Regions from separate parts of the Homo sapiens genome. Here all the other regions are linked to region 3. Evidence: promoter capture Hi-C in 16 types of primary human blood cells and fetal thymus (Javierre and others, 2016). All regions are on one chromosome and are shown on one strand. The core of a region is centred on a gene start or on the middle of the fragment in contact, and the rest is flanking DNA. Distances in the headings are between cores, read along the strand shown.

Region 1 (2,700 bases), core at 41-2,540, 220 kb after region 3:
ACAGTCTTGTAAAGTACAGAGAAGATTGCACCCCAAGTCACACGCCTCCCTGGAATTCCCCAGCCTGTGCTGCTCAGAACACCATTTCCAGGAGGTGATAATGAGAATCCATTTGTTACAAGATGATGGCTTGAAATAACACTTTGCACTTTCTTCCTTTTATCTTTTTGTTCTACATCTTTCAAGAGGTTGCTCAGGCTGTGGCTTTCCTGGACTCCCTATAGGTTTTTGTGGCTGACTAAGGTTCATCTTGTCCCTGGGGTCACTGTTGAGAAGAGCTCAGTTGCAGAGGATCTGGATTTTTTTTTTTTTCCTCTGTGGGTACAGACAGAAGCTTCTAGAAAAGAGCTGGAGACTTCGCTTTTGGAGGCTGTGTTGAATACCCATTGCCCACTCTTCACAAGAAGACAGAAATGCAGAGAGGCAGTCTCTTGTTGACAAATCCTCTTGGTTCTCTTGGAAATGCAACAGAACCATGGAGCTTCGTGAAGCCCATGGGCTTGGAAAGGGGCCTCCCGAGGTACCCAGGGTGGATGGAAAGCTGCAGGGATAAGTGCTCCTCAAGCCAGAAGTAGCCCAGATGGCACAGTCTATGCTGAGAATGGATTCATCACCAGCCTGTGTGCTGGAGGCTTGGGCCAGATGAACCTTGATTTAGAGAGGAAGTAAAGCATTTTTTGCCTTGGTTTGTGCATCAGAATTCATCTTCATGGTGTGCAAATGACGAGGCTGGATTCTATACAGTCAGCACTGAGAATGGATTCAGCACAAGCCCGTGTGCTGGAGGCCTGGGTCTGATGTACCTGGATTTAGGGAAGAAGCAAAGTATTTTTCTCATTTATTGCATGCCTTAGTTTGTGCATCAGAATTCATCTTCGTGGTGTGCAAATGAGAAGGCTGGATTCTACACAGTCAGCGTTGAGAATGGATTCATCACCAGCTCTTGTGCTGGAGGCTTGAGCCAGATGTACGTTGATTTAGAGAAGAAGTAAAGGATTTTTCTCATTTGTTGCATGCCTTGGTTTATGCATCAGAATTCATCTTCGTTGTGTGCAAATGAGAAGGCTGGATTCTATACAGTCAACGCTGAGAATGGGTTCATCACCAGCTGGTGTGCTGAAGCTTGGGCCAGATGTACCTTGACTTAGAGAAGAAATCAAGGATTTTTCTCGTTGGTTTGTGCATCAGAATTCTTCTTCGTTGTGTGCAAATGAGATTGCTGGATTGTATGTTTGGGATATTGCTGGTGTCAACTTATGTAAATAGAGTTTCTATTTATAGGCAGCCTCAGGGAAGGACTCCAGTGGTGGTACTTTTAGTGTCTAAGAGGCTAGTAGGGGGTCTGCAGACCCCTAAACCAGGGCTGTCCAACCCCCAGGTCATAGTACCAGTCCATGGCCTGTTAGGACACCGGCCGCACAGCAGAAGGTGAGTGGCAAGTGAACAAGCAAAGCTTCATCTGTATTTACAGCCACTCCCCATTGTTCACATGACTGCCTGAGCTCTGCCTCCTGTCAGATCAGCAGCAGCATTAGATTCTTATAGGAGCACAAACCCTACTGTGAACTGTGCATGTGAGGGACTTAGGTTGTGCACTCCTTATGAAAAGCTAAAGCCTGATGATCTGTGCATGGGAAGGATCTAGGTTGTGTGCTCCTTATGGAATCTAATTCCTGATGATCTGTCACTGTCTCCCATCACCCCCAGATGGGACTGTCTAGTCACAGGAAAACAAGCTCAGGGCTCCCACTGATTCTATATGATGGCGACTTGTAGAATTATTTCATTATATAGTACAATGTAATAATAATACAAATAAAGTGTACAATAAATGTCATGCCCCGGAATCATCCCAAAACCATCCCCACATTCCACCTCCACCTTCTGTCTTCAGAAAATTGTCTTTCACAAAAGTGGTCCCTGGTGCCAAAAAGGTTGGAGACTGCTGCCCTAAACTATTTCCCCAGAACCTTCCCTCCAAAACTCCTGCTAGTCAACCACGTGCCTCAAGTCTCATGGAAAACAGCCCCAGCTGAGCTCAGCCAGGGTGACTTCCAAGGCAAGAAGGAGCTACACTTCGTGCTTTTCTTTTTTTATTCTTAGAGCAATCAAGGTTTTGCAAACATTAAATACTTCAGACATAGAATATCTTTTTCATTTGCTAGTGGGTTGAAAATAGAACCTGACTGCCTCTGTCTGGCTGCTGTGGGAAGCTCAGAGGCAACGCGATGATTTATCAAGCACAAGAATAAATCAATAATAGACCTCCTGCAGAGCCGGTATTTATGGTTTATTCACTTCAAAATTGTATTTATCTAGCTTCCCATCCCCATGTCTGAAAATTGATAGATTTTTAATAATGCAGAGGATTTATAGATTTATCCTTGTCAGCCATCTTCCCATAACTCTAATGGATGAATTTCTTTCTGAGATAATGAATTACTAAGCATTATTTTTCCTACCACCAAAGAAATACGTCCACGATACAGGGTGACCCTGAAAAATAACAATGATTCTTCCCTGGCCAGAGACCTAAAGACTCTGTTTTTTGGTACAGTTCTTCATTCACCCATTCATTCATTCATTCATTCATTCATTCAAATTCATTCATTCACTTGAATGAATTCAAATGAGTGAATGAATGAATGAAAGAATTCAAATGAATGAATGAATTCAGAGGAATGAATGAATGCAAATGAA
Region 2 (3,030 bases), core at 453-2,952, 200 kb after region 3:
AGGGTTTCACCATGTTAGCCAGGATGGTCTCGATCTCCTGACCCCTCGTGATCCACCCGCCTCGGCCTCCCAAAGTGCTGGGATTACAGGCGTGAGCCACCCACCCCCCGGCCTTGTTTGTTTTCTTTTAAAAAAAATTTCATGAGGTACACGTGCAGCTTTGTTGTAAGATACATTGTGTAGTGCTGCGGTTCACGCTTCAGTTGAACCTGTCACTCAAACGGTGAACAAAATACCTCATAGGTAGAGTTTTAGCCTTTACACCCCTCTCCCTCCCCTGCTCTTGGAATGCGCAGGTGTGCCAGCTTCCCATTTTTATGCCTGATTATTCAATGTTTAGCTCCTATGTATAATTGAGAACAAGTGGTATTTAATTTTCCGTTTCTGTGTTAATTCACTTAGGATAATGGCCTCCAGCTGCATCTGTGTTGCTGCTAAAAACATGATTTCATTCTTTTTTATGGCTCTATACTATTCTACGGTATATATGCAGCAACTACATTTTCTTCATCCAACACATAATTGATGGACACCTGGGCTGATTCCCTCATGCCTCCCAAGATTGAATCAGGAAGAAATCAGATCCAGAACAGACTCATTTCATGACAAGTTATGAAATTGAATCAGTAATTTACAAAAACCTATCAATCAAAAAAAAAAAAAAAAGCCCCAAGACCAGACAAATTCACAGCTGAATTCGACCAGATGTACAAAGAAGAGCTGGTTCCAATCTGACTGAAACGATTCTAAAAAATTGAGGCGGAGGGATTCCTCCCTAACTTATTCTACAAAACCTGTATCATCTTGATACCAAAATCTGACAAGGACACGACAAAAATAGAAAACTACAGGCCAATATCCCAGATGAAGATAGACGCACAAATGCTCAACCACATACTAGCAAACAGAATCCAGCAGTGCGTCAAAAAGATGACTGATCATCGAAACCTTGTCTCTACTACAAATACAAAAATTAGCCAGGCGTGGTGGTGCGCGTCTGTAATCCCAGCTACTTGGGAGGCTGAATCGCTTGAACCTGGCGGGTGGAGGTTGCAGTGAGCCAAGATCGCACCACTGCGCTCCAGCCTGGGCAACAGAGCAAGACTCTGCCTCAAAAAAAAAAAAAAAAGATAATTGATCGCAATCTTAATTGTGGGCTTCATTCCTGCTCTGCTCTTTGTCCAAAGAGATTTTTCTGAATGTCAGGGGTGAAGTTCAAGTTCTAGCACCCAGTGAGCATTCTGCCTTCCCCTGCTGCAGGGCTTGATGTATCGGCTCATCTTCCCCTAGTGATGCCAGCCATACCCTGTTCCCCTTACCCTTCCTACCAGTGTTTCTCTTGGTGCGAGGTAGCTCCTGAATGGATGCAAAAAAAAAAAGATGCTGATTGCAAGAATGAGCAAAGCCCGTTGGTTGCCTGTATTACTCCGTTCTCACACTGCTCTGAAGAAATACCTGAGACTGGGTAATTTTTAAAAATTTTAAGTTCCGGGTACATATGCAGGATTGTACATAGATAAACATGTGCCGTGGTGGTTTGCTGCACCTATCAACCCATCACTTAAGTATTAAAGCCCAGCATGAGTTAGCTATTCTTTTTATTATTGTACTTTAAGTTCTGGGGTACATGTGCAGAACATGCAGGTTTGTTATATAGGTATAGACGTGCCATGGTGGTTTGCTGCACCCATCAACTCGTTATCTACATTAGGTATTTCTTTTAAAGCTATCTCTCCCCTTGCCCCCCACCCCCCAACAGGCCCCAGTGTGTGATGTTCCCCTCCCTGTGTCCCTGTGTTCTCATTGCTCAACTCCCACTTAAGAGTGAGAACATGTGGTGTTTAGTTTTCTGTTCTTGTGTTAGTTTGCTGAGAATGATGGTTTCCAGATTCATCCGTGTCCCTGCAAAGCACATGAACTCATCCTTTTTAATGTCTGCATAGTAGTCCATGGTGTCTATGTGCCACATTTTCTTTATTCAGTCTATCAATGACGGGCATTTGCGTTGGTTCCAAGTCTTTAATATTGTGAACAGTGCTGCAGTAAACACACATGTGCATGTGTCTTTATAGTAGGATGATTTATAATCCTTTGGGTATATACCCAGTCATGGGATTGCTGGGTCAAATGGTATTTCTGGTTCTAGATCCTTGAGGAATCGCCACAGTGTCTTCCACAATGGTTGAACTAACTTCCACTCTCACCAACAGTGTAAAAGCATTCCTGTTTCTCCACATCCTCTCCAGCATCTGTTGTTTCCTGATTTTTTAATGATCGCCCTTCTAACTGATGTGAGGTGGTATCTCATTGTGGTTTTGATTTGTACTTCACTACTGAGCAGGCATTAGCTATTTTTCCTGATGCTCTCCCCCTCCCTGACCCCCACCCACAACACGCCCCAGTGTGTGTTGTTCCCCTCCCTGTATCCATGTGTTCTCATTGTTAAGCACCCACTTATGAGTGAGAGTGTACAGTGTTTGGTTTTCTGTTCCTGCATTAGTTTGCCAAGAATAATGGCTTCTAGCTCCATCCATGTCCCTGCAAAGGACATGATCTCGTTCCTTTTTATGGCTGCATAGTATTCCACGGTGTATATGTACCATTTTTTTTAATCCAGTCTATCATTCTTGGGCATTTGAGTTGATTCCACATCCTTGCTATTGTGAATAGTGCTGCAATGAACATATGTGTGCCTGTATCTTTATAATAGAATGATTTCTATTTATTTGGATATATACCTAGTAATGGGATTGCTGGGTCAAATGGTGTTTCTGGTTCTAGGTCTTTGAGGAATTGCTACACTGAGACTGGGTAATTTATAAAGAAAAGAAGTTTAATTGGCTCATGGATCTGCAGGCTGTACGGGAAGCAGAGCAGCTTCTGCTTCTAGGGAGGCATGAGGAAATGCATAATCATAGTGGAAAGTGAAGGAAAGCAGGTGTCTTACATGGCCCTAGCAAGAGAAGGAGAGACAGAGGTGCAGTTGGGGTGGGCTGGGGAGATGCTACACACTTTTCAACAACCAGATGC
Region 3 (2,908 bases), core at 221-2,720:
AGGGGCCGGGAAGGGGGTCTGTGATCCCTGCAGGGTTGTTGGGGGCAGGGAAGTGGAGGGGTAGGTTTGGTGGGTGGTGTCTGTGGCCTGGCAGGAATTGGGGTGGGGTCTGTGGTCTCAGTAGGAACTGGGGTGTGGGGTCCGTGCTTGGGGCAGGTTCTGTGGTGTCAGCAGGAACTGGGGTGTGGGGTCCGTGCTTGGGGCAGGTTCTGTGGTGTCAGTACGAATTAGGGTGTGGGGTCCATGGTCCTTACAGCTGTTCAGAGTCCTCTGTGGGAGTCCTGGTCCATAATCCTGGCATGGCTCTGGGTGGTTGTCTGGGGTTCCCTATGGGGTCCAAGTCCTTGTGGTCCCTGCTGAGGTCTGCGTGGGGTTACATGATTCTGGCTAAGATGGGGAGGGTGGTTCCCGTGGTGGTCCTGGTCCCCTGCAGGGTCTGGGTAGGGGATCTGTGATCCCATGGTGGGGGTCCTGGCTGGGGCTTGAATGGGGTTCCATGGTCTTGGCTGGAGTGTGGGGTCTTGGAGAGGCAGTCCAGCTGGGGTCTGTAGTCCTGGGGGGCGTCCTGGCAGGGGTCTGTGGTCTTGTGGGGTGCTGGCTGGGGCCTGTGGTCCGGGGGGTGGTTGTGATGGAGGTGGAGGTCCTAGAAGGGGGCCCCAGTAGGGGTCTGTGATCCTGGAGAGGGGTCCTGGTGGTGGGGGTCCCAGTGGAGGTCTGTGGTCCTGGGGGGCCCTGGGAGGATCTGTGGTACTGGGGAGTCCTGGTGGAGGTCTGTAGTCCTGGTGGGGTTCTTGGTGGGGTGTCTGGGCGTGCCCCAGTGGGGGGGCCTGTGGTCTTGGGGGTCCCAGCAGGGGTCTGGGGTCCTGGGGGGTGTTCTTGGGAGGAGTCTATGGATCTGACTTGGGTGCTGGCTGGGGTCTGTAGTCCTGGGGGCGTCCTGGCTGGGGCTGTTGGTCTTGTGGTGGTGGGGATCCCTGCTGGGGTCTGCAGTCCTGCCGGGAGGGGGAAGGGTCCCTGCTGGGGTCTGTGGTCCTGGAGGAGGTGTGGAGGGTCCCTGCTGGGGTCTGTGGTCCTGGGGGGGATTCCTGGCTGGGGTCTGTGGTCCTGGCTGGGGGTGTGTGTGGGGGGTCCCTGCTGGGGTCTGTGGTCCTGAAGGGGGGGTCCTGACTGGGGTCAGTGGTCCTGGGGGCGTCCTGGCTGGGGTCTGTGGTCCTGGGGGGGGGGGTCCTGGCTGAAGTCTATGGTCCTTGCAGGGGGGGGTTCCTGGCTGGAGTCTGTGGTCCTGGGGGGGGTGTCCTGGCTGGGGTCGGTTGTCCGCTCGGGGTCCCCAGTCCTGCAGGCGGTGCGGGATCCCAGAGGGCCCGGGCGGGGTCTGGGGTTGGGGGTTCCCCGCAGGCCGGGGCGGTTCGGGGCGGGCAGGGGGCGGTCCGGGGCGCGCGCGTTTCCGCCGTCCGTCCGGGCGGGCGGGCGCAGAGTCCCGCGGGCGGCGCGGAAGCGGCGGCGGCGCGGCCGGGGCAGCCATGTCGCCATTGTCTGCGGCGCGGGCGGCCCTGCGGGTCTACGCGGTAGGCGCCGCGGTGATCCTGGCGCAGCTGCTGCGGCGCTGCCGCGGGGGCTTCCTGGAGCCAGGTCAGCGGGGCGGGGCAGGGGTCAGGGCTCCGGGGACCCGGGTGGGCGCGGGCTGGCTCGGGGGCGGGGGCGCGGGGGCTCCGCGTGACCTTGGCGAGGCGGTGGCGCTCCCGGAAGTGGGGCTGGGCGGGGGTCGAGGTGTGGCCGGGGGTGGGGGGGGGGCGGCGTGCGCGCTGGGACCTCCCCGCCCCGCGCTTTCCGTCCCCGCCGGCTCTTCTGCGCGCCTGGCCCGGCCCGACCCGGCCCGACCCTTCCCTCCCCGCGCGTGTGGCCTCCCCGCCTGTCCCGGGTCGGGCTCCAACCAAGCAGCCCCCGTGCAGCCGCCCCCCCGCGCACCCTGACACCTCCGGGCCATGGCCGGGGACCCGGGGGCTCGCACGCCCCGCGCCCAAGACATCAGGCGGCTCTGCCTGCCGCCTGCGGTCGGCCAGTGACCGCGCGCCCCCGCCAGGCCCCGGAGGGGAGGAGCGGGCGTCCCAGGGACCTCGACCCCTACCCACCCCAGGGTAAGTGAGGATGGGCCCTTCTCCGGAGGACGTCTCCAGAGGGGGCCCAGAGGCGGCTTCTCGGGCACTGGGGAGCCACGGAGGTCTGGTGGGGAGGGCAGGCCCGTTAAGTGGCAACTTTGTTTCCTTGGCCTTTGTAAACATCTCTGAGTCACAGATCTCCAACTTTGCAGGACTCGTTCACTGTCTGAACTCATCAGTGATGACCGCCACTGTGTTTTGTGTATGCAGATAACTTCTGTTCCTAGATTTGCAGGTTCAGAATTTATTATTATTATTATTTTTTGTAATAGGAAGTAGAGATGAAGTCTTGCTCTGTTGCCGAGGCTACTCTCGAACTCCTGGGCTCAAGCAGTCCTCCTGCCTCAGCCTCCCAAAGTGCTGGCATTACAGGCACCAGCTACTGCATCCGACTAATGTTTTAAAGTTTTGTAGACGGGGTCTTGCTATGTTGCTCAGGCTGGTCTCGAACTCCTGGGCTCAAGCGATCTTCCTTCCTTTGCCTCCCAAACTGTTGGGATTACAGGTGTGAGCCACCACACCTGTCTAATGTTTTAATTTTTTTGTGTAGCAATAGGGTCTTGCTACGTTGCCCAGGCTGGTCTGAAACTCATGGGCCGAAGCAATCCTCCTACCTGGGTCCCCCAAAGTGCTGGGTTTACAGGCGTGAGCCACCACGCCTGGCTAATGTTTTAAATTTTTTGTAGAGATGGCATCTCACCATGTTGCCCAGGCTGGTCTTGAACCCCTGGCCTGCAGCAATCCTCCAGTCT
Region 4 (2,912 bases), core at 265-2,764, 160 kb after region 3:
TGAGGAATCGCCACACTGTCTTCCACAATGGTTGAACTAATTTACACTCTCAATAACAGTGTAAAAGCGTTCCTATTTCTCCACATCCTCTCCAGCATCTCTCGTTTCCTGACTTTTTTAGTGATCGCCATTCTAACTGGCATAAGTTGGTATTTCATTGTGGTTTTGATTTGCATTTCTCTAATGACCCGTGATGATGGGCTAAAAATTCAGAGAAAATGTAATAAAATGTTTAATCTAGCTCAAGTATCCTTCCTTTGTTGAATCAGTTTTCACCTTTTCTGTCTTTCCTGCTGGCTGGCTTGCTGGAGCCCGCTCTCATGAGTGGTGCAAGGTCAGAGATAGAAAACCAGGCCCATGTATGGTTGTGTCTTTTCACAAGTTCAGCCTTTTATTGATGCTATTTCAGTTTACAGAAGCCCCAAGATGCACGGAGTTTTCAAGGAGGCAATTCTCCTTAGGACTTCCCATTTAGTACTGAAATGGCTTGAGCCCTTGGAGTACTGGAGCCTGTGTGCCGGCAGCATTTAGTCAGAGCTACAGGCGCACAGGCTCCTGCTGTGACCCAAGTCAGTCAGTATTGCAACCTATACATACTAATACACTTCACCAATATATGCATGTTATAGATTAAACATTCTACATCAAACAACGTAACATTTATCATCAAGAGAAAAGGGGTAGGAAAAAGCTTAACAAAGGAGCACAGGGATATTGATGTGGACAAAAAAAAGTCTCCTGGCCTGGCCCTGGAGGGCCATCAGTGGTCGCCATCTTGCAAGGAAGAGCCTTTGATATCAGTGGGGCAGAGCCTTTTGCGGTGGATGCTGCGTAATGATTACAAGTGACAGCAAGATGGCATCTGTTAAGGTAGCCATTTGGAGCTGCTGAAGCCCTGTTCTTTCATGACCACAGAGTCCTCTGGTGAGGATTGACAATGGAAGAGGGTGTTTGGTTGTGTCCTTAACTGTTTGGATGTGGTCTTTATTGATCAGGTGAACATCTGGCTCCTGTAGGCATGATGCCTTTTGAATGAAATGTAACATGGAATCTTTTTCTAAGGTGGAGTCACTTATGTCAAGCGTGCTCTACACACTCACTGTAAGAATTAAAGAGGAAAGAAGCATGAAATGTCACTTGACAGTTAAACACAGGTTTATTTTAGAGAAACCTGAGAGGGGCTTCTGGCTGAGTTAGGTCAGAGCTCTTCTCTCTTATAGACTAAGCACATTTAAGGGTTTTGGAAGGGGGTGCTTATCATAGGTTCAGAATGTTTGTATGTGAGGGAGAGTTTATTGCAGGGTTGAATATCTCTGGTCAGAGGGGAGGCTGTCTCAGGGTTGGTATGTTTTTGGTCGGAGACGGGTTTATCTTAGGGTTGGAATGTTTCTGGTTATGCTGACATGAGTCATGAGGCTGATGTTTTCGGGCTGGATTTAGGCGGTTTTTAATCAAGGGGAGCCTAGAATGGTGGTGTTTGTTCAAGATGGCCATGCTCCCGCTCTGTCACCCACAACCTGAAGACCGTTATCATATTGATTTTGTATCTCCTGTGCGTACCTGATGGAGAATGACTGAATGTTTGAATTAAAAGACTCAGGGAGAAGGCAAAGTTGTGTTTAAGTTGCAAGTTGAAAAAAACAATCCATTGGCTCTGTTAGCAGCTATTAGAGAGGTTGGGGCGGGAGCAGAGTCTGTAGCTTAACTTTGCTTTTGTTATGTCGATGCTATGAGCGTGGGAATCATGGAAACTGTGAATAAATGGAAGAGAGTCTGTCAGTGACCTACTGCTGCATCTTGGGCCAGCCCAGGCATCCGTGAGTGTTCAGGGAGACCTCGGGAGAGTTCTCAGGCAGAAACTAGCCACTCACATGCTTGTCATCTGCGGGGTTGACATGGTGGGCTATTTTTATGCTCAGACACTTGGGAGAAAGGGCAGGCTGTACCCAAAGGCAGATAAGTGCTGGCCAGATGGGCTTGCTGGGCACCGTCGAACTCATGGTCACCGTCCTGCCCAGGAGCTAGAAATAGAACTAGCCCCGGGACAATCCGTGAGGTATCAGGTGAGTATGGCCCGATACATGTGACTCAGAGACACAAGGAGTGAGGGTGTGTGCTCTGTCTCAATGAGAGAAGAGAGAAGTCAGGGCTTGCTTTGGCAACACCAAATGCAGATATCAGACTCCTATTCAGAAACCAGAATTCTCATCTCAGCATTTATTTTCTGGATATGTGGCCGACAGATAGGCATCTCTGTTTATAATGCCTTTAATTTTGATCTTGACAAGGACTAGAGGAAGCTCTTACTGAACCTTCACGCCCACAAACAAAAGCTTCTAAATCGGCCGGGCGAGGTGGCTCACGCCTGTAATCCCAGCACATTGGGAGGCCGAGGCGGACAGATCACCTGAGGTCAGGGGTTTGAAACCAGCCTGGCCAACATGGTGAAACCCCATGTCTACTAAAAATACAAAAAATTAGCCGGGAGTGGTAGCGGGCATCTGTAGTCCCAGATACTTGGGAGGCTAAGGCAGGAGAGTTACTTGAACCCAGGAGGTAGAGGTTGCGGTGAGCTGACATCACGCCATTGCGCTCCAGCCTGGGCAGTAAGAGTGAAACTCCATTTAAAAACAAAACAAAACAAACAAAAAAACTTCTAAATCACATTCAGGAAGCATTTTGTAATATTTTATTTCTTATCAGGGAGCATTTTGTAATATTTTATTTCTTCTCAACCCCTGTAGTGGATTGAATGGTGCCTCTATTTTACCCCCACCCCCACCAAAAAAAAAAAAAAGACAAGTTCACCTTGAATCTGTACATGTGATTTTTTATTTGGAAATAAGGTCTTTGCAGATGTAAAAAAGGATCTGGAGATGAGATCATCCTGGATTGCAGTGGATCCTAAATCT

The links. Contacts are between HindIII fragments. The CHiCAGO score rates a contact against its expected background, and 5 or more counts as called.
Region 1: a fragment that was not itself captured here is called in contact with the fragment with the promoter of DHRSX in region 3 in 1 of 17 cell types (neutrophils); the score reaches 5.5 in neutrophils.
Region 2: a fragment that was not itself captured here is called in contact with the fragment with the promoter of DHRSX in region 3 in 1 of 17 cell types (neutrophils); the score reaches 7.0 in neutrophils.
Region 4: a contact is called between a fragment that was not itself captured here and the fragment with the promoter of DHRSX in region 3, in 1 of 17 cell types (neutrophils). The highest score is 6.5, in neutrophils.

Annotation. Positions count from the first base shown.
Region 1 is chrX:2,284,305-2,287,004 of GRCh38, reverse strand. The region is part of intron 4 of DHRSX (dehydrogenase/reductase X-linked); the gene reads left to right. Among named protein-coding and RNA genes, the nearest start is that of DHRSX, 220 kb to the left of the region's middle. The HindIII fragment of the contact is 331 bases long and covers 1,125-1,455 here.
Region 2 is chrX:2,304,563-2,307,592 of GRCh38, reverse strand. The region is part of intron 3 of DHRSX (dehydrogenase/reductase X-linked); the gene reads left to right. Among named protein-coding and RNA genes, the nearest start is that of DHRSX, 190 kb to the left of the region's middle. The HindIII fragment of the contact is 6,213 bases long and covers 1-3,030 here.
Region 3 is chrX:2,499,538-2,502,445 of GRCh38, reverse strand. DHRSX (dehydrogenase/reductase X-linked) reads left to right here and starts at 1,470. Exons shown (of 7, transcript NM_145177.3): 1 at 1,470-1,629. The coding sequence starts at 1,521. ZBED1 (zinc finger BED-type containing 1) reads left to right here and starts at 1,470. Exons shown (of 2, transcript NM_001171136.2): 1 at 1,470-1,629. The HindIII fragment of the contact is 4,150 bases long and covers 1-2,908 here.
Region 4 is chrX:2,341,537-2,344,448 of GRCh38, reverse strand. All of the region lies in intron 3 of DHRSX (dehydrogenase/reductase X-linked), which reads left to right. Among named protein-coding and RNA genes, the nearest start is that of DHRSX, 160 kb to the left of the region's middle. The HindIII fragment of the contact is 1,642 bases long and covers 694-2,335 here.